Linked DNA regions of Homo sapiens: region 2 is linked to region 1. Evidence: promoter capture Hi-C in human tissues and cell types (Jung and others, 2019). All regions are on one chromosome and are shown on one strand. Each heading gives the region's core, a stretch centred on a gene start or on the middle of the fragment in contact. The rest is flanking DNA. Distances are from core to core; before and after follow the strand shown. Region 1 holds the start of AGXT2 (alanine--glyoxylate aminotransferase 2). Region 2 overlaps CAPSL (calcyphosine like).

What was found. Contacts are between HindIII fragments. The study calls those that stand out against the background at their distance.
Region 2: a fragment that was not itself captured here is called in contact with the fragment with the promoter of AGXT2 in region 1 in 1 of the 25 tissues and cell types used here (H1 embryonic stem cells).

Annotation. Positions count from the first base shown.
Region 1 is chr5:35,046,683-35,049,233 of GRCh38, reverse strand. AGXT2 (alanine--glyoxylate aminotransferase 2) reads left to right here and starts at 1,285. Exons shown (of 14, transcript NM_031900.4): 1 at 1,285-1,429. The coding sequence starts at 1,342. It also overlaps a transcript of PRLR not described here. The HindIII fragment of the contact is 10,637 bases long and covers 1-2,551 here.
Region 2 is chr5:35,902,024-35,904,574 of GRCh38, reverse strand. CAPSL (calcyphosine like) reads left to right here. Exons shown (of 5, transcript NM_001042625.2): 5 at 1-287. The coding sequence ends at 30. Among named protein-coding and RNA genes, the nearest start is that of CAPSL, 35 kb to the left of the region's middle. The HindIII fragment of the contact is 3,117 bases long and covers 1-2,551 here.

The sequences.
Region 1 (2,551 bases), core at 36-2,535:
CAACCACAGGACAGACTGTGCACCCCAGGGAGATGCTGTGTGTCCACTGGCCTCACTGACTTGGATTACTCCTGCAGCACGTGACCAGCCAGCTCATATGATCACTCCCTACTGCCCCCAAAGCAGAATTGACTGGGAGCTGGAAACCCACACAAAAAGGGACAATTATATTGAATGTAACATACTCCCTCTGCTTACCTAGTGCCTTCACCTCCTATGGGCATTTGGAGTAAAAGGTTGTTATGCAGGTGTTTGTGAAGGATGTGGCCAAGTCAGTTGTCTCCCTTACAGGGTGACCCAAGATTAATGATATCTACCCATCCCCAGTCCCTCGACCCCCTAGTTGCAATCAGCTTTGTCACTGTCCCCCTTAGGCACTGCCATGTAAAGCACGTGGTCCCCCATTCTGAAGCAGTGGGAAACCTAGAAGAGATGTACTCTTCGCAACCTGGTTGGATCTTAAAAACATGGTTCTAACTGAAAAGAAAAAAGACATATTACACATATTTACATAAATTAAAACTGCATTCACCCTAAACAATACACATTTTACAAGAATGCGTTCCAACAAAAGGATATATATAAGCATGCTAAATACTTGCTTATGGGGATTGAAGGTAAGGGGAGGCTGGAGTGGGATAAATAGGAATTTAAGAAATAATGAAAATAAGGCACACTAACTCCTTAGCTCTCAACCTTTTGCCTTCCTCAGACACATAAGATGATCCACAGCTGTCCAGAACCTTACCTAGCTATTTGGTACTCTCAGCTTTTCTTTGGAATGGCTCCTTCCCCATTGTTTTCTCCTCTCTTTCTCTAAGACCCCCAAAACCAATTTATTTGTTCATTCACTTCATGCATATCTTCCTTTTTCCTCTCTTAGTCACATACCTCGTTTCACAATCTCCGACCCCTTCAACCATGTCCTGATCCTTCTCCCACACCCAGCACCACCCTCCTGCAGAGAAAAGTGTACCCGGATGAAACTCCGATGGAATATTAAACTAACAGAACTTGTCAGATGACCTTTGCTTTATCTGCCTGCTTTCTTTCCTCTTCCCTTCTGTTCTCTTCTTTTCCTTTCTTTTCTCTCCTCTTCTCTCTCTCCTTCCTATTTTCATTCTATCTCTTTTCCTCACTCTCTTTTTCTCCCCCTTGAAGGCACTGTTACTAGAAATAGAGAGCTCTGGGGCTTGCCTGAAGCCATGGGCAGTCACCACTCCAGGATTCCCCTTTTAGCGCCTCCTCCCCATCTTAATCTCAAAGTCCAGCAGGATAGTGAGCAGTTAGAGCCCGGCCTCCAATCTGCTTCCATGGGGGTTGGCTTTCTGAGTGGGAGAAATGACTCTAATCTGGAGACATTTGCTGAGACCCTTGTGCCTGGTCACTTCCGCTCCCAGGATCCTTGAGATGCATCCTTTCCTGAGCCGTAAGTGGAAACCAGGGGGACGTGGGTCAGTAGAGGATCAGCGAGAGGGTAAGACTTGAGCTCCGAAGGCTGCTGCCTGGGATTCTGGAATGTTAGACCTGGGTGAGGTCTTAGAGATGAGGCATGTTTTTGACACACAGGTTCTCACCCTGAGTCAATGCCCCATTTTCATAGCCAATATTTTGTAATGCTCCTTTTTGTTTTGAAATGAAATTCGTGGATAATGAAACCCGACTATACACAATTTCAACATGACATGCTATCTCAGCTTCAATATTTTTAAAAACCAAAGGAAAGCAATCAAAATAGAGTGTGACTTCAATTTACAGATGCCCAAGGATGATTTCTATTTTTTCTTTTTTGAGACAGGGTCTCCCTCTGTCACCTAGGTTGGAGTACAGTGGTGTGATCATGGTTCACTGCAGCCTTGACCTCCAAGGCTCAAATAATTCTCCCACCTCAGCCTCCTGAGTAGCTGGAACTATAGGCACATGCCACCATGCCTAGCTATTTTTCTTTTTTAACTTTTGTAGACATGGGGTTTTACTATGTTGCTCAAGTTGGTCTCGAACTCCCGGGCTCAAGCAATCCTCTCACTTCAGTCTTTCAAAGTGCTCGGATTGCAGGCCTAAGCCATTGCACCAGGCTAGGATGACTATTTTAAAAGATGTAAAGCATCTGCATGAATTTTCATCATGCCTCTAGGAAGTGAGACCACGCTCTCAATTGCCAACAAGTGCTGTGATTCACCCAGAGTCATCCAAGCCAGGGCTTGACCCCAGGCCCTCCCCATCTACTCAGACTCTCCTCTCTGCAGCAAGAACAGAAAATATGAGGAGATGTGGGGTAACCAGACATTGGTGGCTTTATGAGTAATATCCTATATGCTTGTGATTTTCACATGGATCTTGTTTCACGAGAGCCTCACCTCCTCCTCAGCAAATTCCCTCATGCAAACATGAGATTAAGCAACTGTCTGTACATTTATGTGCCTGTGCTTCACGGGCCGTAAACAGGTACAGGGGACCATTTTACATTCCCCATTGTGACCAACTTTGCCTTCATTTTCTCCTCATATTTCCCTTTCACCCTCCTTCCTTCCTCTCCTCTTCGCTTTCTTAC
Region 2 (2,551 bases), core at 22-2,521, 860 kb before region 1:
ATCATGATGAGAACCGCCTGGAAGCTTTAAGCACATGACCTGGGGACCAGGCCCTGGGACAGCCATGTGGCTCCAAATGACTAAATGTCAGCTCAAAAACCAGAATCGTATTTGATTTCACACTCATCCTAATGTTTTTTTCTGTGTCAAAATATTGCATTTTCTGGGGCCAAAAAACAGGCAGAAATAAAAGACATTGAGTAGCCAACTGTGAGTTTGCCTTGCCTAAGACTGTTTCCTTTGTTCTAAAATAGGACTTAAATAAAATGAGCTCTGTAAAGCTCCTAGTGCTGTGCTGATACATGCAGGTGTCTAATCAACTTTAGGTTTTATCCCTTGGCCATTAATGAAAGCTTGAGTATTTTAATTAAAACCCTCACCCATGCACCCATAGTTTTTCTTCACCTCCTTTTAGATGATCCTTTTCTAGGTGAGATGATAATATATCTCTTTTTATGACTGATTGTAAGTCTTTAAGTGTTTCAGTCTCATTTGGGGACCAGAAGAAGACCACGTGTTAGCCTCAATTTCTACAAGCAAATCTTGAGTTTCACTGCTTAGGGTTTAGGGAAGCCGCAGTTTGACAAATAGATTCAAAATGATTTATTTAATAGTCATTTTAAAGACTGGTGTGAGTGAGGAGGCTATTTCTTTGAGCAGTAGATCCACGCCTGTTCATGGTACTCCTGTGGCTGAAGTTTTGAAACTGGGCTGGGCGCTCAGATTTTATCTGGGACATCTTGCGCTGTGTGTGGGCAGGCTATTCCAGAAAGCCTTCACCTGGTGGAATGTTTATCTCTCCCCTCTCTGCTTTCTGCCAATTGTGTTGAAATTCCCACCAGCAAGGGCTGGGTGCAGTGGCTCACGCCTGCAATCCCAGTACTTTGGGAGGCTGAGGTGGGTGGATCACCTGAGGTCAGGAGTTCAAGGCCAGCCTGTCCAACATGGTGAAAACCCTGTCTCTACTAAAAATAAAAAAATTAGCTGGGCATGGTGGCACATGCCTGTAATCTCAGCTACTCCAGAGGCTGAGACATGAGAATTGCTTGAACCCGGGAGGCAGAGGCTGCAATGAGCTCAGATCATGCCACTGCACTGCACTCCAGCCTAGAGCAAGACTCTGTCTCAAACAAACAAACAAACAAACAAAAATTCCCACCAGCACAAGGAGGTTGGGTGTGACACGGACTAGGATTTCAATAATATTCCAAAGCAGGTTTTCCATCTTGATGCTTCATGGCTTAACACCTCCTCCTCCCAGCACTAAGCTTTGGCTTCATATCGTTGATGTGTAGGACTCTGCCCATGAAAGGCTACTAGAAGCAAAGATAGCCCAGAGGCTGGAAAATAGATAAGAAAACTACAGCTCTCCTTCTGTGTCTTCTGTATCTAGGGCCAGAGATAAAAGCACAGTGACCAGCCTCTGGTTATGGTGCTGGAGACAATGCCCACCCACCTTGCTGCTGGGTGAAATACCTCCTTTTGACTCTGTCCTTAGCTGCACTCATCCCCCAGTTTGCAGACAGGATTGGGTTAATAGTCTTCTTTAAGATCTTATATACTTAATTGGCTCTGGATTTAGGGATTGAACACACTTGCCATATTTTGTATCAATTCACTGTTTAGGTTTTATTTCATACGCTTGGAAGTTGAGATTCGGATATGTATTAATTTAAAACATGTGAAAACCAGTGCTGCTACATAGGCATTATAGTAGTTATTAAGTAACTTGTTGAGATGCTCAACTTTTTCTTGAGGATGGTGTATCCCCGTATTACCAGAAACTAGTTTTGTTTTTGTTTTTGTTTTTTTACTTAATTGCACAATTGCACAAGTTTGATTTTGTATTGGATTTATTATCTCTGCTCATATAGAGGTTGGTTAGGCCAAAGATACCAAGTGTTATGAAGAAATATGTAGACTTATGTAGAAAACCAGAAGAAATTGTGAAGAAATGTATAGAAAAAAATCCATATATTTTTGCAGCCTGTGCCTTGTAGACTGTGGCTAAGGAGAGGTCCCCTATTTCCTGGGGATGATGGGTTTCAAGGCTTTTGCTCTAGAAAGATTCTTGTCTTTGATTCTGGGTATGACTCATGCCTCAGCTTAACTGAGGCTATAGAGTGAGCATGTGATTCTGAGCAAGGACCAGGTTGCAGCTATCAGCTTAGTCTTCTCCAGTGATACTTTGCTTCCTGTCAAATGGGGGCACAGGGCACAGCTATCCAATTTCAGATAACCCATACTTCATAGTGTATTTGGTCACATTTAGTTGCTTCTCTTCTAGCGGTTTGGGTTCTGGGCCCATGAGCAAGGTTCCACCAAGGCCCTTTCACCCTCTGGAAACAAAATCTGCTAATAACCTAATGGTCAAGGGTCACTGCACTCCAATTCTCATTCTCCTTTATGGCTTCTGGCACAGTCACGAATTATGCATTATTTAGCTCTACTCCTTCTAGTAGGAGTGGGAGGAAAAGAGAAGAGACATTTAAAGAAATCATTTGCTAACACTCTTCTGGATATATTTTTTGTTTATTTAACTTACAGATTT